Regions from separate parts of the Homo sapiens genome. Here regions 1, 2, 3 and 5 are each linked to region 4. Evidence: promoter capture Hi-C in 16 types of primary human blood cells and fetal thymus (Javierre and others, 2016). All regions are on one chromosome and are shown on one strand. The core of a region is centred on a gene start or on the middle of the fragment in contact, and the rest is flanking DNA. Distances in the headings are between cores, read along the strand shown.

Evidence for each region. Contacts are between HindIII fragments. The CHiCAGO score rates a contact against its expected background, and 5 or more counts as called.
Region 1: a contact is called between the fragment with the promoter of SLC37A4 here and the fragment with the promoter of ARCN1 in region 4, in 1 of 17 cell types (total CD8 T cells). The highest score is 5.1, in total CD8 T cells.
Region 2: the fragment with the promoter of HYOU1 here is called in contact with the fragment with the promoter of ARCN1 in region 4 in 1 of 17 cell types (non-activated CD4 T cells); the score reaches 5.6 in non-activated CD4 T cells.
Region 3: a contact is called between the fragment with the promoter of JAML here and the fragment with the promoter of ARCN1 in region 4, in 2 of 17 cell types (neutrophils and erythroblasts). The highest score is 5.6, in neutrophils.
Region 5: a contact is called between a fragment that was not itself captured here and the fragment with the promoter of ARCN1 in region 4, in 1 of 17 cell types (erythroblasts). The highest score is 6.2, in erythroblasts.

The regions. Positions count from the first base shown.
Region 1 is chr11:119,029,627-119,033,978 of GRCh38, reverse strand. SLC37A4 (solute carrier family 37 member 4) reads left to right here and starts at 3,102. Exons shown (of 10, transcript NM_001467.6): 1 at 3,102-3,130. RefSeq lists a silencer at 3,488-3,647. The HindIII fragment of the contact is 18,338 bases long and covers 1-4,352 here.
Region 2 is chr11:119,054,099-119,059,008 of GRCh38, reverse strand. It overlaps HYOU1 (hypoxia up-regulated 1), which reads left to right and starts at 1,804. Exons shown (of 26, transcript NM_006389.5): 1 at 1,804-1,989; 2 at 2,842-2,939; 3 at 3,166-3,259; 4 at 3,438-3,516; 5 at 3,670-3,824; 6 at 3,949-4,025; 7 at 4,334-4,515; 8 at 4,773-4,888. The coding sequence starts at 2,849. RefSeq lists enhancers at 1,297-1,346, 1,706-2,205, 2,206-2,706 and silencers at 1,577-1,856, 1,947-2,226. The HindIII fragment of the contact is 24,437 bases long and covers 1-4,910 here.
Region 3 is chr11:118,223,431-118,228,112 of GRCh38, reverse strand. It overlaps JAML (junction adhesion molecule like), which reads left to right and starts at 3,102. Exons shown (of 10, transcript NM_001098526.2): 1 at 3,102-3,172. It overlaps MPZL3 (myelin protein zero like 3), which reads left to right. Exons shown (of 6, transcript NM_198275.3): 6 at 1-1,423. The HindIII fragment of the contact is 17,664 bases long and covers 1-4,682 here.
Region 4 is chr11:118,569,276-118,573,903 of GRCh38, reverse strand. It overlaps ARCN1 (archain 1 coat protein complex I subunit delta), which reads right to left and starts at 1,495. Exons shown (of 10, transcript NM_001655.5): 1 at 1,354-1,495. The coding sequence starts at 1,356. It also overlaps a transcript of IFT46 not described here. RefSeq lists enhancers at 1,114-1,193, 1,704-1,833. The HindIII fragment of the contact is 8,662 bases long and covers 1-4,628 here.
Region 5 is chr11:118,172,186-118,176,556 of GRCh38, reverse strand. It overlaps SCN2B (sodium voltage-gated channel beta subunit 2), which reads left to right. Exons shown (of 4, transcript NM_004588.5): 1 at 1-195. The coding sequence starts at 126. Among named protein-coding and RNA genes, the nearest start is that of SCN2B, 2.3 kb to the left of the region's middle. The HindIII fragment of the contact is 1,312 bases long and covers 595-1,906 here.

The DNA of each region.
Region 1 (4,352 bases), core at 1,853-4,352, 460 kb before region 4:
AAAAAATTAGCTGACCGTGGTGGCGGGTGTCTGTAGTCCCAGCTACTCGGGAGGCTGAGGCAGGAGAATGGCATGAACCTGGGAGGCGGAGCTTGCAGTGAGCCCAGATGGTGCCACTGCACTCCAGCCTGGGCGAGAGAGCGAGACTCTGTCTCAAAAAAAAAAAAAAAAAAAAGAAAGAAAAAGAAAAAAAGAAAGAAAGAAACCCTGTCTGTACTAAAAATACAAAAATTAGCCAGGCGTGTTTGCGGGCACCTATAATACCAACTACTCAGGAAGCTGAGGCAGAAGAATCGCTTGAACCCAGGTGGCCTGGTCCTGTAGTCTTAGCTACTTGGGAGGATCGCTCAATGCTCAGGAATTTGAGGTTAGAGTGAGCTAAGATACCATTGCACTCCAGCCTGGGCAACAGAGCAAGCCTGTCTCAAAAACAAACAAACAAACAAACAAACAAACAAAAAAAACAGACCGGGCGCAGTGGCTCACGCCTGTAATCCTAGCACTTTGGGAGACCGAGGTGGGCGGATTACCTGAGGTCAGGAGTTCGAGACCAGCCTGGCCAATAGGGTGAAACCCTGTCTCTACTAAAAATACAAAAATTAGCTGGGCGTGGTGGCACATGCTTGTAATCCCAGCTACTCAGGAGGCTCAGGCAGGAGAATGGCTTGAGCCCAGGAGGCAGAGGTTGCAGTGAGCCGAGATCCTGCCACTGCACTTCAGCCTGGCCGACAGAGCAAGACTCTGTCTCAAAAACAAACAAACAAACAAATAAACACCATCGACCAGGCACAGTGGCTCATGCCTGTAATTCCAGGATATTGGAAGACCAAGGCAGGTGGATCCCTTGAGCTCAGGATTTCGAGGCCAGCCTGGCCAATATGGTGAAACTCTTGTCTCTACAAAAAATAGAAAAATTAACCGGGTTGGCTGGGTGCAGTTGTTCATGCCTGTAATCCCAGCACTTTGGGAGGCCAAGGGGGGCAGATCACCTGAAGTCAGGAGTTTGAGACCAGCCTGACCAACATGGAGAAACCCTACCCCTACTAAAATTACAAAATTAGCTGGGCATGGTGGGGCATGCCTGTAATCCCAGCTACTCGGGAGGCTGAGGCAGGAGAATCGCTTGAACCCCAGAGAAGGAGGTTGCAGTGAGCTGAGATCACTCCACTTCCAAAACAAAACGATAGGGCTGTTAATTTAGGTGGTGGTTACACGGGTATTAACATGTGTAAAAAATCACTGAGTTGTACATGTAAGATTCCTGCACTTTTTGTATTTTATTATGTGTATGTTAAATCTTAAAAATAAAAGCGGAGAAAAACCTGATGGCTTCCTACTCCTCTATTAGGTAAAGTAAGAATCTGCTCTGGTTTGGTTTCGGAGGAACTGTTTCCTGGTCCTTGGATCTACCTGGCTGAAAGCACAGTGCCTGGTACAAACTAGGCTCCTCCCCGATTTTGAATTAACGAAGTTCAGTGACATCGTCATCCTATTTTTTTTTTTTTTTTTTTGAGACAGGCTCTCGCTCTGTCACCCAGGCTGGAGTGCAGTGGCACGATCTCGGCTCACTGCAACCTCTGCTTCCCAGGTCCAAGAAATTCTCCTGCCTCAGCCTCCCCAGTAACTGGGATTACAGGCGTGTGCCACCAAGCCTGGCTAATTTTGGTATTTTTAGTAGAGACAGGGTTTCACCATGTTGGCCAGGCTGGTCTCGAACTCCTGACTTCAAGTGATCTGCCCGCCTTGGCCTCCCAATGTGCTGGGATTACAAGCATGAGCCATCGCGTCCGGCCTGTCATCCTATTTTATCTCATCTCCTCCTCCTCCCTTCCCTGACCATCTTCTCTGGAGTAAAAGATCTTTGCTCTCAATTTTGGAACACTTACAATTCCTTCAGCCACTCTTGTTAGGAAGATATAAGGGAAGAGAGCGAGAGACAGGAGGCAACTCAACGGCCAAACAGGTTTATTCACAGGAATAAGCCTGCAAGGAGTTCCAGTCAGGAGTCTGGCTGAGACCCTGATCGCTTACAAGCTGAGGCTTTTATAATATCGTTTCTATTGGGGAGAGGTCGGGAAGTGCTGGCTGATTGGGACTGTTGGGGACTTTGTTAGGCTATGTTACCTTCTGTTGAAGCTATGGGCAGGGTTAACATTTGCTCTGTTTCTGAGAACACAGTCATCATTGTTGTAAAATAGCATCACTACTGTTACTCCTCACAACTCTTAACTGGGATCAGTGAAAACCATTGTTGTTGAGAACTCTTATAGAATTTCTGAGCTCTTATCTAAATCATCTGTTGAGTCTTCACAATGATCTACCAGGCTGGTAGGAAACGGGAGCTCATAGAGATTAACCAAGGTCATACAGTTAGAATGCTGTGGGTCTAGGACTAGAATTTGATATTTACTCCAGGCCCCGTCTCTGTCCCCAACAATCTAACCACAAGTTAAAATTCCAAATTGTGGGCTGGGCGCGGTGGCTCACGCCTGTAATCCCAGCACTTTGGGAGGCCGAGGTGAGCGGATCACGAGGTCAGGAGATCGAGACCATCCTGGCAAACACGGTGAAACCCCGTCTCTACTAAAAATACAAAAAATTACCCGGGCGTGGTGGTGGGCGCCCGTAGTCCCAGCTACTCGGGAGGCTGAGGCAGGAGAATGGTGTGAACCCGGGAGGAGGAGCTTGCAGTGAGCCGAAATCGCGCCACTGCACTCCAGCCTGGGCGACTGAGCGAGACTGTTTCAAAAAAAAAAAAAAAGAAAAAAAGAAAATACTGTGTGTTCCTACAACACCTTTCCCAGACTGTGAGCAACTTGGGAACAATGATTATCACCTTAGTGTTCGGTGTGTTTTGTAGAGGAGGGCACTCACTAAAAACTGGTTTGTTGAATGCAACCACTTAAGAATTGGACATGCCGTGCCCAGCCCCTAAGGGGCGCTATGCTCGTTCGTCCAAGGAGCAGCGTGACCAGCGGGAGGGAGTAAGTCGACGTCCCCGGCATGTGGGGCGGGGAACTCCACTGGCCGGCAAGCGAAGCAGCAGGCGAAGACCACGCCCCCGCCGGCCGCGCTTGCGCAGCCTTCGCTAGCCCCGCCCCGTCCTATTCGGGCTCCCGCCTCTGTTCAGGTAGGAGGCGGTATGCGGGGGAGGGGAGTCACCTGAGGGCGGGGATCTCAGGTCTTGGGGAGCCATTGTTGGCGAACCCCAACTTCCGATACGACCCGGAGCTGTTCCTGCAGTTCCAGAGACAATTCATGGGTCTTGGGGCCACCGAGGCGCTGTCCCTGACCACCAGCACGAGACCCCTTTCTATCGCGCCAGTCCTGTGGTCTCCGCACCTCTCCAGCTCCTGCACCCCCGGCCCCCGTGGTTCCCAGCCGCACAGTAGCGTGTCCTGGGTAGCGTGAGGACCCACGGGGCTGGGCAGGTGCCACGAGCCCGCCGCCTCTTCGCCGCCCGCCGCCTCTCCTCCTCTCCCGCCCGCCGCCTGGCCCTCCCCTACCAGGCTGAGCCTCTGGGTGCCAGAAGCGCGGGGCCTCCGGGAGAATACGTGCGGTCGCCCGCTCCGCGTGCGCCTACGCCTTCTGCTCCAGTTGCTTTCCCAATTGAGCGGAAAAGCCGGGGCATGTTGCCGGGGCCCTGGGCGGGACGGTTGTGCCCTGCAGCCCGAAGCCCGCCGGGGCACCTTCCCGCCCACGAGCTGCCCAGTCCCTCTGCTTGCGGCCCCTGCCAACGTCCCACAGGTTGGAAACCAGACCCTGCAGCCCCCAGCTAGCCCGAAGGAAGCCCAGACTGACGTCGCAGGGTAATGGGGACCCAGAGGTAGCTCTGTGGGGCCCCATCAGGACCTCAGCCCTTAGCGGGGCTTTCTGTGTGACACCGTGGGACCTGAACTGGGGAGGTCCCCCTTGCACAGAATTACAAGGGGCAACTGTAGGAAACAATTAAATCTATTATGTGCTAAGTATTGAGAGTTCCACGGATTGAGGCCCTCTCTAGAAGGCTTAGAAGTGGGGTAGCCGGGGTATGTGTCTGACTTTGTGTTTTGGTGCGGTGGTGGTGAGTGGGTGTAGAAACTAATAGTGCCAAGTGCAGTGCCTGTCAACTAGTAAGTTAATAAACCTTCCGTGAATGAATGAGAAGGTTCTGTGACTGAGGGAGCAGGGCTAGAGAGGGCATCTCTGCTCATCCCACCCCTGCCTCCCCTGGGCTCAGGCAGACAAAAGTAATTAGGTTGAACCTTTAATCAAAGCTGGTTTCACAGGCAAGCAGACATGATAGAGGAGGTAAAGGCAGAAATCCTGGGGACACAGGGTGCTGGCCTGGCTCACAGGCATGCCTCCTTCCG
Region 2 (4,910 bases), core at 555-3,054, 480 kb before region 4:
CATGGGAGACTTCATTTTGTTCTGTACTAAGAAAAATTCTTCTGCCTTGGGATGCTGTTGATCTATGACCTTACCCCCAACCCTGTGCTCTCTGAAACATGTGCTGTGTCCACTCAGGGTTAAATGGATTAAGGGCGGTGCAAGATGTGCTTTGTTAAACAGATGCTTGAAGGCAGCATGCTCGTTAGGAGTCATCACCACTCCCTAATCTCAAGTACCCAGGGACACAAACACTGCGGAAGGCCGCAGGGTCCTCTGCCTAGGAAAGCCAGAGACCTTTGTTCACTTGTTTATCTGCTGACCTTCCCTCCACTATTGTCCTATGACCCTGCCAAATCCCCCTCTGCCAGAAACACCCAAGAATGATCAATAAAAAAAAAAAAAAAAAAAAAAGGAAGAATAGACTCTCTCTGGGACTGCCAATAATTTTTCCTTCTAAGCATAGACACCGGACCACTCTCCACCTAAGCATCACGAAAAATGTAGAGAAAGGAAGAGCTAAGAGCTCCTTAAACAAGTTCAGGCTTGACACAACCCTGGCCCTGACAGCCAGGGTCTTCAAGCGGGCCTTTCTGTGAAGGGTGGCCAGGCATCAACTTAGTAGGAGAGAAAACAGATGACTTATTTCCATCCACACTTAAGGAAAATGCAGTCTCCAAGGACTGCGTACATTTCTTTTTCGAGAAGGAGTCTCGCTGTTGTCGCCCAGGCTGGAGTGCAGTGGCGCAGTCTGGGCTCACAGCAACCTCTGCCTCCCGGATTCAAGCAATTCTCCTGCCTCAGCCTCGTGAGTAGCTGGGATTACAGGCACCCGCCACCACGCCTGGCTAATTTTTGTAGTTTTGGTAGAGACGGGGTTTCACCATGTTGGCCAGGCTGGTCTCGAACTCCTGACCTCCAGTGATTCGCCCGCCTTGGCCTCCCAAAATGCTGGGATTACAGGCGTGAGCCACCGCGCCCGGGCGACTGCGCACATTTCTATGGAGCTGTAAGTTAAAAGAGAAGGCAGTGAGGTGCTTCTGTCATTCTATGACAGAAACAGCTAAAGAGTAGAGAAATGTTCACAAGATTTAATAGAACAGAAATAGGAGAAGGTGCACACAAGCTCAACCAACTATAGCCTCACAAATAAAAGTGTCTTTTGTGTGTAGTACTTAAGTTTGGAATATTCTTTCTTATACAAATGAGTGGGGCTTAACCTAAGAAATCCTGGCCAGATTCTGCGACGAATGCATCGGTTATCTCTGACCCATCAGCAAACATCTTTTTCTGTGGCTTCAGTTTCCTCAGTAAAACAGAGGGGGTTGCGACGGACTCAGTCCGAGGGACAGCCATTCTCCAACGTCTATCCAAAGCCTAGGGCACCTCAATACTAACCGGCAGGCCAGCGCCCCCTCCGCGGGGCTGCGGACAGGACGCCTGTTATTCCATTCCTCGGCCGGGCTCTACAGGTGACCGGAAGAAGAGCCCCGAGTGCGGGACTGCAGTGCGCCCGACCTGCTCTAGGCGCAGGTCACTCCCGAACCCCGGCAGCAAAGCATCCAGCGCCGGAAAAGGTCCCGCGGTCGCCCCGGGGCCGGCGCTGGGGAGGAAGGAGTGGAGCGCGCTGGCCCCGTGACGTGGTCCAATCCCAGGCCGACGCCGGCTGCTTCTGCCCAACCGGTGGCTGGTCCCCTCCGCCGCCCCATTACAAGGCTGGCAAAGGGAGGGGGCGGGGCCTGGGACGTGGTCCAATGAGTACGCGCGCCGGGGCGGCGGGGGCGGGGCCGGGCGCGCAGCGCAGGGCCGGGCGGCCGAGGCTCCAATGAGCGCGCGCCGCGTCCGGGGCCGGCTGGTGCGCGAGACGCCGCCGAGAGGTTGGTGGCTAATGTAACAGTTTGCAAACCGAGAGGAGTTGTGAAGGGCGCGGGTGGGGGGCGCTGCCGGCCTCGTGGGTACGTTCGTGCCGCGTCTGTCCCAGAGCTGGGGCCGCAGGAGCGGAGGCAAGAGGTAGCGGGGGTGGATGGAGGTGCGGGCCGGCCACCCCTCCTAGGGGAGACAGCGTGCGAGCTCCGGGGGCGGGTCGGGAGCGCAAGGGAGGGCCGCGCGGACGCCGGGCGCTCGGCCTCGCACCGGGGGGCACGCAGCTCGGCCCCCGGTCTGTCCCCACTTGCTGGGGCGGGCCGGGATCCGTTTCCGGGAGTGGGAGCCGCCGCCTTCGTCAGGTGGGGTTTAGGTGAACACCGGGTAACGGCTACCCGCCGGGCGGGGAACCTTACCGCCCCTGGCACTGCGTCTGTGGGCACAGCGGGGCCGGGGAGTGAGCTGGGAAAGGGGAGGGGGCGGGACAACCCGCAGGGATGCCGAGGAGGAGATAGGCCTTTCCTTCATCCTAGCTACCCCCAACGTCATTACCTTTCTCTTCCCGTCCAGGCCCAGCTGGCTTTCCCCGTCAGCGGGGGAGCTCCAGGTGTGGGGAGGTGGTTGAGCCCTGGGCGGGGATCCCTGGCCGCACCCCAGGTGTCTGACAACAGGCACAGTGCTGCGGTGCGCCACTCACTGCCTGTGTGGTGGACAAAAGGCTCGGGTCTCCTTTCTCTTGTCCTGTTAGCTTCTCTGTTTAGGGATGTGGCAAAGCCGAGGACCCATGCTCTTTCACTTGGGCCTTTGTGTGGGCGCTGCTGGGATGATTAGAGAATGGTTTGTACCCATCAGGAGGGAGAAGGGGAGAAGTAGGCTGATCTGCCCTGGGTAAGAATGAAGTAGATATGAATCTTACAGCCTCTCCGTTCTGGGATGTGATTCTGTCTCCTTCACTCCGGGTATCCAGTTTTAAGTGTTTTCTTTCTTCGCCTCCCCCAGGGGCACTATGGCAGACAAAGTTAGGAGGCAGAGGCCGAGGAGGCGAGTCTGTTGGGCCTTGGTGGCTGTGCTCTTGGCAGACCTGTTGGCACTGAGTGGTATGTACCCCAGTAGAGGGAGCAAATGGATAAATGATGACTGAAGGATGCATGATGGGAATTGAGCTTGGGGCTGTTGGCCAGAAGTCTCTTGAGTTGTTAGGTCCAGGCCTTTTTGTCTTTTGCCATCTTCGTTTACCCATGGAAAGTGGTATGCTTTGATTAGAGGGAGTCCCAGGAAGGTGGGCGAAGGGAGAGCTAACTGACAAACCTCTTTTCCCTTCAGATACACTGGCAGTGATGTCTGTGGACCTGGGCAGTGAGTCCATGAAGGTGGCCATTGTCAAACCTGGAGTGCCCATGGAAATTGTCTTGAATAAGTGAGGGTGGCCCCCGTGTTAAGGGTGGGGAACGAGGGAGTCTGGGCTCCAAGTGTGAATGTGTTAGTCATAGTGCCCACAGCAGACTTCGGCATCTGAGTGGTTAAATGTGTGTGAGTGTCGAGGCTTCTGAGTCCTTCTGCTGCAGGCACCTGGGCCCAAAATCTCTTTTCCTCAGGGAATCTCGGAGGAAAACACCGGTGATCGTGACCCTGAAAGAAAATGAAAGATTCTTTGGAGACAGTGCAGCAAGCATGGTGAGCTAGCAGTCCCTCTTCCCAGAGTGGTGGGCAGAGGAGAGGAGATGGCAGCCCCCAGAGTCTGTTTCCTTATCAGTCTCTGTGATGTAAGAGGTAGGTAATGGTGGACTTGGGAGCCTAATACTAGTCTGCTCCTTCTTCACCCCTCAGGCGATTAAGAATCCAAAGGCTACGCTACGTTACTTCCAGCACCTCCTGGGGAAGCAGGCAGATAACCCCCATGTAGCTCTTTACCAGGCCCGCTTCCCGGAGCACGAGCTGACTTTCGACCCACAGAGGCAGACTGTGCACTTTCAGATCAGCTCGTGAGTGCTCTGTTGGGGAAGGTGGTCTCGGCAACGCTGCTGGGCTCCTCATTGGTGTGTGTTCCTGATTGTCCTGCCTTAATGCCTGGCTTTCCTTGGCTCCAACTACCTTCCTTCCCCTCAGGCAGCTGCAGTTCTCACCTGAGGAAGTGTTGGGCATGGTTCTCAATTATTCTCGTTCTCTAGCTGAAGATTTTGCAGGTGAGTGGTCAAGGTGGGGCCCTTAGGGCCAGGCTCCCCAGGATCTAGGGCAGTGATTCTCCAACAGGGGCAAGTTTGCCTCCCAGGGAACATTTAGCAACATCTGAAGATAGATTTTGGTTGTCACATCTGAGGGGTGCACCTGCTATCTAGTGGGTAGAGGCCGGGGATGCTGCTCAACATCCTACAGTGCACAGGACAGCCCCACAACACAGAATTACCTAGTCCAAAATGTCATTAGTGACCAGATTAGAAGCCCTCATCTAAGGTATGGAGCCGGCGGGACCCTTTTCTGTTGTCATCTGTAGAGCAGCCCATCAAGGATGCAGTGATCACCGTGCCAGTCTTCTTCAACCAGGCCGAGCGCCGAGCTGTGCTGCAGGCTGCTCGTATGGCTGGCCTCAAAGTGCTGCAGCTCATCAATGACAACACCGCCACTGCCCTCAGCTATGGTGTCTTCCGCCGGAAAGATATTAACACCACTGCCCAGGTGAGCCAGGGGAGCCTTGACCAGACATGCAGGGTGACTGAATCTAAGGATGGAGGCCACTTGGTCCCTTTTGCATCTGGTTTGCATGGCTGGGCTGACCCTTGGCAAAATGCACCAATAGCCTCCTCCCAGCCCCTGTTGGAGCTGTTTAGTTTTGTGTTAAGAGTCAGACAGCCCATTGGAAGCAGGTGGGTGGGCAGGCAGGCCCCCTGGAGTTTGAGAAGGTTCCTGTGACAGTTGCCTTGATATCTCTACAGAATATCATGTTCTATGACATGGGCTCAGGCAGCACCGTATGCACCATTGTGACCTACCAGATGGTGAAGACTAAGGAAGCTGGGATGCAGCCACAGCTGCAGATCCGGGGAGTAGGGTAAGTGGATACTTGGCAGGGA
Region 3 (4,682 bases), core at 1,853-4,352, 350 kb after region 4:
TGACTCTGGTCACGCGAGGAAGTAGAAGGGCAAAGACAGGACCGGCAGTTTACATTTCCAGTGGTTAAACCTCACGGTACTTTGGGACTGCTTGTTAACTTTTGTGGTTGTCTGAGGCCAATCTAACGTGACCATTTCTGACACCTCAACAGAGAGAGGAAAGCAACTTGAGCAATGAGAGTAAATAACTTGGGCTCTCAGAGATTTGAAGATAGAGATCTCATTGTGAGGGGGACTATTTTGCAGGTCCTCATTTCTCCAAGAAAGAGATGGTGTTACAGGAACCCACTGAAAGCCATATCCCATTAAATGAGGAACTAATTTTGGCTGGGCCTTCTTGTAATGTCCTCGCAGGTGTGTTGTGAAGATTAATGCAGGGTAGTATGTTTGTAGATTGACACCTAGTCTAAACTTGAGGTAATTGGTGCTCTGTGAATACTCAGTCGTGTTCTTTTATAGCCTTAATCATGATTTGAACTAGTCCCTTGCTTTTTAAATGACTGAATGAAGTCCTTCGTGGTAAGGGAGTACGTTGATAACTTAGTTTACTATATGGGTTTGTGGTCGCATCCCAGTCATCAGCTGCTATCATTTTCCTTCTTCATCCCTTATACTGAGATTTGGGTTACAGCTTTTTATTCTTCGAAGGATCACAAAGCAGTGTACAGACACCTGCCTTCTTTAAGGATGAAAGGAAGATAAAGTGGTCTTTTTTTGTTTACTTATTTGTTTCACCTCTTGTTTGAGTAACTTCTAAGGTGCTATTCTCTCTCTCTTTTTGCTACCTCATGAGCTCTTGTCACAGCCATGGAAACCAGCCTCGTTTAGAAAGGGAACTTAGTTCAGAAGGGGTTAAAAGCCTTCCAGAATTTTTCTTTAGCTGCTGAAGTTTTTACATGTGGTTACATGACTTTAAGTTTTATGCATTACGCTCTTAATTCTATTACAAAATGTGGACTCACCAATTGCTTTGTGTTTTCCATGTGACCTGTTACTTCAGGCTACTTGGGGAACATCTTAGTCCTCTGTAGCTCCTGAACCCAGCACTGGTGCTTCAAGAGAGAAGGTAGCACGTCTTTGTTCAAAACAAAACAAAACGACACTTCTGGAGGCCACATCCTGAATATGAATGTTCTACTAAGTCACTCAGTTATGGTTCTAAAGGGAAACTGTAAGAAGACCCACAAGGAGTGGACCAAGACTATTATTTAATTGCACAACTTGAAACTTTGCTGCCAGAAGAGGCAGCTCCATTCCTTTGACTCCAGTGTTGGGCTGTTAACTGCTGCACCTCATTGCCTTTTTTTGTTTTTGTTTTTGTTTTGTAGGAGGGTAGGCACTGTTGGGCCATATGCACAAATATTGTAACTCTTGGTATCTTTACTGCATCATAGTCAATAAACTTCTTTGTACCCTTTGGCTACCTTTTGGTGTGTGCATATCTACATAAAAGGTGGGAATTGTCATGTGAAAAAGATGGGGGTTTGTGGTATTAAAAGCTGAATTAAATTTAAAAGAGTTTAATTGAGCACAGAATGATTCATGAATCAGGCAGTCTCCTGAGCCAGAGTGGACTCAGAGACTCCAGCGCAGCCACGTGGTGGAAGATTTATGGACAGCAAAAGGAAAGTCATGTACAGGAAACAGAAGTGAGGTACAGAAATAGCCGGATTGGTTACAGCTCGGTGTTTGCCTTATTTGAATAGTTTGAATCATTGGCCATCTTCGATTGGCCAAACTCAGTGACTGGCACAAGAGTAGACTAGAGTCCGTATACTATTCCATTTACGTTATAGTTCATGATGTACAGAGAAACCTTTAGGCCAAACTTAAAATATGTAAGGAGGCAGCTTTAGGCTAAACTTGATTTAACAGTGGTTTTCAGCATCGTGCAACCAGTCATGTCGGAGCTGTACCCCCGCAAGAACCTGCAGAGGTTCCGTGGTGTGCTGGAACCAGCTTACATAGCAAGAGCTGATTACAGGCTGAGTACCCCTAATCTGAAAATACAAAAGAGTGGTTGCTATTTCAACTCCAAAATCTGTAACTTTGAGTGCCAACATGATGCTCCAAAGAAATGCTTATTGGAGCATTTTGGATTTTCAGACTAGGGACGTTCAACTTGTATGTATTCGGCAAATATTCTAAAATCTGAAAAAAATATGAAATCTGAAACATTTCTGGTCCCAAGCATATTGGATAAGGGATACTCAACCTGTATTAAGTTTTTTAGGAATTTTGCAAGCCAGTTGTTAAACTGTTGGTAGCTTGAAATAGGTTATGATGGGAATATTTATGCTGTGGAGATTGCTGGCTCTCTAGCACATCACTTCTCAAGGACCATGCAGCGTAGTGCTTGGGAGCAAACGTTCAACAGCTTTTCAGATGATACAGGACAAGTTCCATGAGTCTGCCCATGCCTAGGTCAAGCCAATCTAGCCGAGGTTGAAGGTGCGTACATTGAGAACACCTATTTTGAAGTGGTGACTAAGACTGAGAGGTATCTTGAAGTGAAGAAACCTTGAGTTCTAATCTAGGATGTCCAAGTCACCCAAGAGGTTCTCTATGGGAATCAATGGCTGCCTGTATTCTGGAAATGCTGATATCACATGGCCAGAGGAAACTTTCATGTCTACATGGTGAGTTGGAGGACTGGGCAGGCGTATCTTTGGAAGCAGGGATTGGGTGATTGCCTGGCGAGGTTGCACCTCTGTTTTGAGAGGAAAAATAAAAGAGGTTGCTGTATCTTTAACACAGAAGGTTTTGTGTTAATATTACGTTTATTGTATTTTGTTTGCATGAAATGGATTTCTTTCTCAGCACCTATTTGCCTGGTGCCATTCAAGCTCCTACCCTCAGAGGGCTTGTCATCTAAAAGGGGAGATGGCACCTGAAGAGGTCTGAGTGTGAGGTTCACCTCAGTAGGTTGAATTTGTCACCTCTTTTTAGAATGAAAGTATACATAACAATTGGGTAATGGGCCAGATGACTGAAATGAGAACCTTGATTTAGAGGTTCCTGTTTGCATCTCTGCAACCACTTCAGAAGGCACGTGTTTGGTTTGCTCTGAGCCTAACCTAGAGTGCTCGCAGCAGTCTTTCAGTTGAGCTTGGGGACTGCAGCTGTGGGGAGATTTCAGTGCATTGCCTCCCCTGGGTGCTCTTCATCTTGGGTAAGCAGTTGCTTTGAATTTCTTAAGCCATTTTTTGAACTTTTCTCACACAGAAGTGTGCCAGTCCTGAAGGCTGGTTGAATTGGTAGTCTCTCAGGATTGTGAAGCTGCGATTGCAGAACTCTTGATCTCTGCAGGGGGATGTCATAAAGTAGTCTAATGGGTGCTGTTTCAGTTACTGTCGTGTAGAGTAACTTAGGTGAATCTCCTCAGCAAAAAGAGGAGCAAAGTTTCATCATAATAAGAGTACGTGACAATGATTATGACAAGGCTTCAGCTTTTAAGTCACCCGTGGGTTTAGGTGGAGCTGTGACTGGCTGTTCTTGAGCTCACAGCAGAGCTCTTTCTTCACTGTTTTTCTTTTTAGAAGACAGTTTTTAATTTTATTTTTAAACAAATTTTATTGTGTGTATTTAAGGTATACAACATGATGTTGTGGGATGCATGTAGATAGTAAAAAGTTTACTATGGTGAAGCAGATTAATATATCCATCATTTTACATAGTTATACCACTGTTTTTCTTCTCCCCATTATAGACAAACCAATATTTAACCTTTAGAAGCCCGAGACTTAAATCTCCCAAGAAAGCTAGGCTACTGTCCATGCTTGTTACACCCTCAGCACAGCCCTGACCTTGGGAAAGGCTGATGCAGGATGGTTTAGGTATAACCTACTCTGGAGAAGAGAGCAGGAGTAAGGACCTCCAGGGTCCCATTCGCGTAGAGCATTAACCGATGTGACCTAGACTGTGTTACAGAAGCCACGTGACCTACCAGTCTGTATTCAATGGCTTAACAATGGAAAATGAGGGCATATTTTAAGACGCATGGCTTAGAGTGGTTATATGGACTTGTAGACCTAAAAACATCTGAGAGCCTAGAAGTGCACAGCAGTGTGCAGATAGATTGAGAGGACTTGGCTCTGCAGGTGGACAACACTCTGTGAGTAAAAGAAGGCTGTGCAGTTGTCCGTTTGCTCAGTGGTTAGTTGTCCTTACTAGGGACAAACACTGAGAGACAGCAGCTCTCCCTTATTTTGTCTCATGATATTGTAATTTGGGGGGTAACTTTCACATCTTGTATGGTAGTCTCATTGTAGCATGTCTCTTTTCTGAAGATTTCTTTTCTGTAATATAAAGGGGTATGGATTTTTTGGAGGGAGGGGGTGCCACTTGTTCTCATTACCCAACAGGATATGGAGGAGAGTTGCTCAGAGAAGATTAGTATAGAGTCACTACAAGTCATTTAGGTAGCCAAAATGATAACTCCAAAATTTCTAAAAGGCAAAAATCTTTACTTGCTGATAGAGGGGAGAGTCAACTTTCCAAGCAGGTCGCAATAAAGACAGCATGATGCCAACCGAATCTATTTCCTCTCTCCTCCTTTTTCTGTTGTTTATTAAAAGGTAAACAAAAATCTCATTATTTTAAAATATTATGCAAAAATCTTGTTTATGAGAGAAAGCAAAATTTCACCTTTGCATTAGTATATTATTAATGTTAGATCCAAT
Region 4 (4,628 bases), core at 246-2,745:
TTTCAAAATCACTAACCAAATACAGAACCTCCTGGAGAAACTGAAAATACAAGTTTCTGGAAATTTTGTGTCCAACACAAAAATTTTAGGAGGCAAACCTGTTTGATGCAATTTATATACCTGAGGCTGAGAAAAGCTGTTCAGTGGCCTAAAGTCCAAGCATGAATTCCCCCCATTATCCAAGTTCTTATCTAAAGGGTTGTCAATAGAACTTATTAGGATTGCCACCAAATTACATTCTGCCATCTCTCAGGTACACTGGACGATGTTTTAAATCAAGTTATCTATTGACAAAAGAATAAAAAAGAACAGAACAGAACATCCTTCAAAAGACTAAAGGACATAAGGTGCACTGAAAAATAAATTACTAGCTTTTTTGAAACCAAAGAATGTCTACTACTTCATGAATATCCACAAATCACAGCGATAAAGGAAGATTGAGTGATGTCAGCAGTTCTGATTTCCTCCATCCTCAACCACATTAACCTTTCTCATCCTTGTAACAGATGAGTATACAAAGATAACGCATGGGAAGGCAAGTAACTGGTCTCGGAGGCTAACCCATCCCTCTTACTCCACCTCCTGTGAGACATCTGACTACGACATGCCACATACACATTTTTCTTCACCTGGACAATAAGTTCCTTGAAGGCAAACCCTGTGTTCTCTGGAACCTGCTCACATTTTCCCAGTGGTCTACACAGTGTATGTACCCCGAGTCACACTAACAAATGGACACAAGTGAGTTCTGCGGAAGTAGTGGAAGGTTTCAGAGACACTTGGGTCCTATACATTAGTGTTAGAAGTTACTCCTTTCCGCTCTGTGTCTCCATTTCCCCCTTCTGAACAAAAAGAAAAATTTCTGGACACCAGTGGATTTGCATTTCGAGTTATCAACGGCCTAGCAAACACCGGGGGTGGGAGACAAGCTCTGATTAACAGAAGGACCAGAACCTCCGGAGACAGGCCCAGCCTGCTGAGCCTAAGCGCCAGGGAACCGGCGGGACAGCATCAGTTCCGAGGTCCGCAGCCTGGGACCCGCACCACCACCACGAAGTTCTCGCAGAGCAAAAACGCCGGGCCGTCTCAGGGGCAGGTCCCAGCAAACGAGGGAGTCCAGCTGGTTGGGGGGTGGTGCGGAAGCGGGCACGACGACAGATGGACTGGAGTCAGCTCCATCGGATCTCCAGGAGACCGGGCACAGGAGGCCACACTGCTCCCCGAGCCCGGAGCAAAAGCACTCTGCCCTAGACCCTCAGGGCGGGGCTCCTCCGGCCCCTGCCCCAGGCCCGCCGACAAGGAGAGACGGTGAGGCTCGGACCCCAGGAGTTCGGGTCCTGGCTCGGATCTTACCATGGTGAGGGCGGTGGTGGGGCGCGCCCGCACTCCGGCTCCACTGGGGATAGGGGTAGGGTCTGGGGAACGGGAGCACCAGCAGCTCTGGACCTGCTGCCCCCTTGACAGGAACCGCTGCCGCTTCGCCTCTTGCCAAGATGGCGGCCCCAAGCCACGTCTTCAACCGGAAGCGGCGCAGGTCAAAGGGCGGGGGGGGGGGCGGGGCCTGTGGGCTGGGGAAATTGAGGGTACCCCGCTCCGGTTACGATTAAGCCCAGGAGGTGTAGGGGGCGTTCACCCTCCAGCTGTGGAACCTCGTATCTCTCCCCTTTCACTGTCATCGCCTTCATTTATTTTGCGTCACATCTTACAGTTTAACAAGCCGCTGGCACAGCCACTATTATTTAATATACAGGATAACCTGTGTGCCTAAAAGACCAGTATCCGGAATATATAAAGAACTTTTTTTTTTTTTTTTTGAGATGGAGTCTCACTCTGTCGCCCAGGCTGGAGTGCAATGGCGTGATCTCGGCTCACTGCAACCTCCACTTCCCAGGTTCAAGCGATTCTTCTGCCTCAGCCTCCGGAGTAGCTGGGATTACAGGCACGCGCCACACCACGCTCGGCTGTTTTTTGTATTTTTAGTTGAGACGGGGTTTCACCATGTCGGCCAGGCTAGCCTCAAACTTCTGACCCCAAGTGATCCGCCCGCCTCAGCCTCCCAATGTTGGGATTACAGGCGTCAGCCACCGCGCCTGGCCTAAGAACTCTTATAACTCAGCAATAAAAAGACAAATACAGTATTCCTGTCTAAAAATGGGCTTCATCTGCAAAATGGAGGGAGTAGAAAACACAAAATTAAAATGAGCAAAAGATTTGAATAGATATGTGTCCAAAGAAGATATATAAATGGCTAATATGCACATTAAGAAATGTTGAATATCCTTAGGGAAATGGAAATCAGACCCGTGGTGAGACGTCATTTCACACTCACTAGGATGGCTATCATAATAATTGTTGGTGAGGATGAATGTAAAATAGTGCAGCCACGTTGGAAAAGAGTTTGGCAGTTCCTCAAAAAGTTAAACAAAATTACCACATGACTGAGCAATTCCACTCATAGGTACATACCCAGGAGAACTGAATATATGTCAACACAAAAATGTGTACTCTAATGTTCATAGCAGCATTATTCATAGTAGCCAAAAAGTGGAGACAATCCAAACAAATCCATTCATCAATAGATGTGGCATATATATGCAATGGAATATTATTTAGTCACAAAAAGGAATAAAGTACTGACATGCTACAATATGGATGAACCTTGAGAATATTATGTGAAAAAAGACGGATACAATGGGGCACTCATATATGATTCCATTAATACGAAAGATCCAGAATAGAAGAAAATCCACAGAGACAGAAACTAGCTTAGTGATTTCCAGGGGCTCAGGAAGGGTAGGAATAGAGAGTGACAGTTAATTAGTGTAAGATTTATTTCTGGAATAATTAAAACATTCTGGAATTAAGCCAGGCATGGTGGCATGATCCTAGAGTCCCAGCTACTTGGGAGGCTGAGTTGGGAGGATGGCTTGAGACCAGGGGTTAAAGGTCAGCCTGTGCAAATTGTGAGACTTAGACTCTTAAAAAAAAAATAGTTCTGGAACTAGATAGAGGCAAATATACTAAAAACCACTAAATTGTATAATTTTAAAAGGTGAATTTTTATGATTTGTAAATTATATCTTTAAAAAAACATGCACTGGAAGCAGGGCAGTTGTGCTCATGTCCATTTTGTATATGAAGAAAATGGTGAAAAGTTTAAGTGACTTACCCAAAGTTTCTAAACCAGTATATGATGGAACCAAGACTCAAAATCTGTTCTTGTGATTCTCATGTTATTTCTTGTATGCCAAATTTCAGATTTTTCAGAGTATAGCTGATTCAGTAGTTCTTCCTTAAATCATTTTATCCTACATCCTTAGCTCAACCGAACAGCACTCATCCATATTAAACCTGTATGTCCACAATTAAGTATAATAGCAACTTTTAATTGAGTGCTTCATTTGTGTCAGGTACTTTACACATGTTATTTCCAATCTTTTACATCAATCCAAATAAAGATACTGAGGATCAAAAAAGTTAAGCATTTGTCCAAACTCACACAACTAGTAAGTGGTAGAGCCAAGTTCAAAGTCAGTTTTCTCCTGGCTGGGCGCGGTGGCTCACGCCTGTAATCCCAGCACTTTGGGAGGCTGAGGTGGGCGGATCACAAGGTCAAGAGATCGAGACCATCCTGGCCAACATGGTGAAACCCCATCTCTACTAAGAGTACAAAAAAAAAAAAATTAGCTGGGCATGGTGGCGCGTGCCTGTAGTCTCAGCTGTTCGGGAGGCTGAGGTGGGGGAATCCTTGAAGCTAGGAGGCGGAGGTTGGGTTGCAGTGAGCCGAGATCATGCCACTGCACTCCAGCGTGGCGACAGAGGGAGACTCCGTCTCAAAAAAAAAAAAAAAAAAAAAAAGCTGGGCGTGGTGTCTCATGCCTGTACTCCCAGCTATCTGGGAAGCTGAGGCATGAGAATTGGTTGAACCTGGGAGGCGGAGGTTGCAGTGAGTTGAGATCACAACACTGCCCTCCAGACTGGGCAACAGAGTAACACTCAGTCTCAAAACAAACAAACAAAAAAACAAAGTCAGCTTTTTCCATTAAAACACACTGCCTCTGTATCTCCTGTGTGTTCCCTAACATTTATTGAACACTTACAGCATACCAGCCATTACTCTAACTTCACACAGATTATCTCATTTAATCCTCACAAGAATCCTCTGAGATAGGTACCTTTATTGTCTCCATTTTACACATGAGGAAATCAAGGTACAGAGAAGAAAACTATCCCACCACAGGTCTCATGGCTAAAAAGTAGGTAAGCGAGGATTCAAACAAAGGCTGTTCAACTTTGGACTATACCCTTAAGCACTGCATTATAGACTTCTTGCTCTTACCCGTATCAATTCCATCTCCAATGGCCTTCTAATAGAAATCTTTAGAAAGCTCAAATATTTTTAAATTTTATATGTCTGGGAGGATATATGTCAAACTGTATTTTAAAGTTTTTTTTCATTAAAAAAACTTTTTTAGAGAGATGGGGGTCTTGCTATGTTGCCCAGGCTGGTCTCGAACTCCTGACCTCAAGCAGTACTCCCATCTTGTCCCCCCAAAGTTCTGGGATTGCAGGAATGAGCCACTGAGCCCAGTCAATATTTTAAAAAAAAAAATTTTTTTTTTTTGAGA
Region 5 (4,371 bases), core at 1-2,500, 400 kb after region 4:
GTATATGTCTTTGAAGTACATCCGTGCATTTTTTTTTAGCATCCAACCATTCCTCCCTTGTAGTTCTCGCCCCCTCAAATCACCCTCTCCCGTAGCCCACCCGACTAACATCTCAGTCTCTGAAAATGCACAGAGATGCCTGGCTACCTCGCCCTGCCTTCAGCCTCACGGGGCTCAGTCTCTTTTTCTCTTTGGGTAAGTTAGACACATCTGCATGCTCCCGAGGGTTCAGAAGTGTAGCCGCAATGTGAAGAGGATGGGGGCAGGGGATAGGAAAGAAGACATTGCTAGCGCTTTCCCTCTGTGTCCTTGGGAGGGGAGGTGCTGGGGACTGGAAGGGACGTTGCTGGGGAGTGCAGAACCCTGGGACTACTTAGTCACAGAAATGTTGGGTCAGGGGATCTGAGTGTTGCTGGGGGCTGACAATTGTCAAGGGAGGTGAATCTTCTCTGGATTTCCCCTAAGTGGACCTACGTGGCGGTGGGGCAGAGAGTGGATTGACCTGCAGTCTCTTCAGGGATTATTTTTTGGAGTTGCTGCAAATGCGGGGTCCTGGGACTTAATGCTCCCTTAAGGGGCTTCTTTTCAGAAGCTTGATCCTGGTGGATTTAGGGTATTAGGAGAGTGTGCAGGGGAGCTGGTGGCAGAAAGTTGAGTCTGGGTCTGGCTTCTTGGCACTCGGTCTCACTGATCTGTTGGAACGTGTGTGGGAGTAGGTGGGAAGCGGGCTTGGGGAATGATGTCTGGGTTGGGAGGAGACCTGCTGAGGCACGCACTGATGGAGAAGGCACCTTTGGCTTGGGCCGGATGGAATGGAGGAAGGGCCAGGTGTAGAGATTCAGGAAAAAAATGGAACCCACAGGCTGAGCGAGGTTGCAGCCCTTTAAATCCAGCCTCAGAACTGCCCAGCCCAGTCTTGCAGACTGTCCTGTCAAGTGTTTGTATTTGACCACTCAGAGACTTCCTGGTGGGGAAGTGGGCTAGAAAGTTATTTGCAAGCCTGCTTTGTAGAGTTTCATTCTTGCTCCTAAACTTACTTATTGCTGGAGCAGCAACTGAGAGTCAAGTCCAAGGACTGTTGATGGAACTATTCCCCACCACAAAGGCTCTCTCTCTTTCTGTGGTGTGATGTGCTGGGTTTGGAGTAGGAGTGCTAAACACAGACAGTGCAGAGGCCCTGCCAGCCTGCTTTGCTGAGTTACTTGGCATATTAACATCAGAGCAGGAATGCTATGGAATCTCTGGCAGGACCTGGGTTTCAAGCCACCTTTGTCATTTACGTAATGATCACAGGCAAGTTACTCAACCCCTCTGAGCTTCAGTTCCCTCCCGGGTAAACTAAAGAATGCCTACTGCCTGACGTGTTTGTGATTTGGTGCATGGCAGGAACTCAACGATGGCTAACATAAGAATGCTTTTCGTGAGCCCAGGCACTGTGTATCTTGTTTAGCCCTCACAGCAATCGGAGGTAGATTCTATTATACTCAGGTTACAGGGAGGAAACAGATGACTATGGTAACGGGAGCTGAAATTTGAACTCCCTGTGTCTGACTTCAGCACATTCTCTTAAACGTTGGATTCCACTCCCCAATGTTCAAGAAATGGCACTGCTATATTAACAGTACCTAATTGATCAGAGTCTCAGGACAGGCTGAAAGAAGGGGAGTTGGGTGAGTGGCCTGTTGTAAGGAGGCCCAGCTGGAGGACAGGACCCTTTCCTCAGGAGTTAGGAAGCACTTCGTGCAGGAGAGAAGCCGCCTGGTGAGAGCCATGGCTAAGTAAAGATAGAAAGGGGGCTCAGTGACCAGGACCCAGAGCTCTGGGCTAGGGTGAGGAAGAGGGAGTCTGCGATGAAGAGGTCTGAGTGTTTGGGGTGGGGAGATGGTAGTGGGAGGAAGCTAAAGCTTCTGCAAAGCTGAGTGGGAGAGGATGCAGGAATGGGGACCTTGAACTTGAACTTGATTGGTGCTGTAATGAGGCATGTCCCTGGCACTCCAATGCTGAGGGCCGAGTTGACAGTGGAACTTTGGTGGTGTTGCAGTAGCATCGATCCCCAGGATGGAGGATGCCACAAGTGACGAGGGAGGGGACTCTGTCGGGGCTGGGCTTGTGGGGATGACTATGGAGGTGGCAAAGAGAAAGGGCAGGTGGGCAACCAGCTCTACCCACGGCAGAAGCATATGAGGCTAGTTTTAGCCAGAAACAATTCAAATGACTGGGCTTCCCTCAAGTTTTTCTTGAGACCGTTGACTCCACAGTCACTGGCCTGCTTACCAATGTATGGATTATGTTAGTGGAGGCATAGAAAGTGGAGTCTGGGCTGAGCATGGTGGCTCACGCCTGTATCCCAGTGCTTTGGGAGGCCGAGGTGGGAGGATCGCTTGAGGCCAGGAATTGGAGACCAGCCTGGACAACATAGCAAGACCCTGTCTCTACAAAAAAAAAAAAAAAAAAAAAAAAAAAAAGAAAAGAAAAATAAGCCAGGCATGGTGGCATGTACCTGTAGTCCTAACTGTTCCAGGAGGCTGAAGAAGGAGTATCAAGAGTTCCAGGCTGCAGTGAGCCGTGATCATGCCTCTGCACTCCAGCGTGGGCAGCAGAACCAAACCCTGTCTCTTAAAAAAAGAAAGAAAGAAAGAAAGAAAGAAAGTGAAGTCTAGTCCTCACTCTAGCCCACTGCACATATCTGCTGCTTGTGGTGGTGGGGACCCAGACATGGAGAGAAAGCTGTCTCTTCTTCCTTTAGTAGACTTTATTGAGTCCCCACTCTGCCACACACTGTCCTGGGTGCCAGGGATACCAAGATGAATAGGAGTCAGTTCCCCGGAGCCTCTAGAGGGAAACAGGCCCATGAACAAATAATAACAAGACAACATTGTATGTATGGCAACAATAATAGCAATAATGCTCATCATAGTCGCAGCTGACTTTTGTCCAGGCCATGTGCTAGGCACTGTGCTGAGCTTCATACAGGTAGTAAGTCATTTAATCCTTCGACAGCCCTATGAAGTTGGGCTTATTGTCCCCTATATTACAGATGAGGAAACTGAGGCACTGGGAGGTTAACTATCCTGCCATTCTGCCCTCAAGTCATGTGGAAGAGATAGGAACAGGGCTGGGGTGAGGACAAGGACAATGGGGAAACAGTCACCGAGGCTAATGCCCTGTAAGCTGGGACCTGAAGAATAAGTAGGAGGGGCCCAGGGGCAGGAGGGCAAATGAGCTTCTCAACCTGAAGCAAAAATACGTGCAAAGGCATGGAGAAGGGAAGGAAGGTGGTGTTTTCAGAAAAAATCAGAACTGGGGTCACTGGAGTGAAGGAGACCTGGGGGGATGGGGGCTGGCAGGGGATGAGGCTAGGGTATAGGTTGGTCCCAGATGCCAAAGGGCTTGGAAGCTGTGCCCAGGAGCCTGGACTTGATCCTGAAAGCAGTGGGTAGCCGTTGGAGGTCTGGAGGTGAGGAGTGATGAGGGTGGGTTGCTCCTGGCTGCACGGGGATGGACTGGAGTGGCCGGGGTTGGGGAGGCCCTTGAGCAGGAAGGGTCTGGATGGTAAGGCAGTGCAGGTGCGGAGATACGGGCTGGATGCCACACTCACCTGGGAGGCAGGGGCTGCCCCGGGAGACAGTTCATCTGTTTAGACACTTAAAAAAAAAAAAAAAAACCAAGAAGAAAATAATTACCTCATAGGTTGCTGTAGGGTGGAAAGAGGAGTGAAGAGATTAACTTCCAGTCTCTGCAAGAGACAGCATTTGGCAGATGAGCAAATTTTTATAGTCTCTGCAAGATGGGCTAGTTAGAACAGTGGATGACACGAGGCCTGAGGGCCCAGATGTGCCTTGGAGACAGCGGGTGGCCCGCCACTGCTGAGGTTTTGGATCTAAGATCAGAAGCCTCATCCCGTTGATGATCTTTTCCCTTCTGTGAGTTGAAAATCAGGAGACACAGGCCCCAGACCTGGTCTCAAATGGGACAACCAGGAAGATTGTGGGCCCCCCTTGTATGGAGGTTCCTTTAAATGGTACAATTCCCTGCTGGCGGGCCTGCCTGGAGTTGGACCTGCCATATAGTCGGCAAGAGATCGGATGCCTTGGAATGGGGCTCACTTCACCACTCAGCTTCAATGCCTCAACCCAGTCTGGAGCCAGGCAGGCTGGCTTCAGATTCTAGCTTCGCCTCTTACTAGCCGTGAACTTGGGCTCGTCTCTTAACTTCTTTGTGCTCCATCTTCCTCATCCGGAATGTGGGAGCGATAACAGGTTTTGTTAGTATTAAATGAGGTGATGTATGTAGAGTATGTAGACAGTGCCTGGCTCGTTGTAAGCATTTTGTAAGGGTTTGTGGCTGTGATGAAGTCCTTTCTGTGGCCTT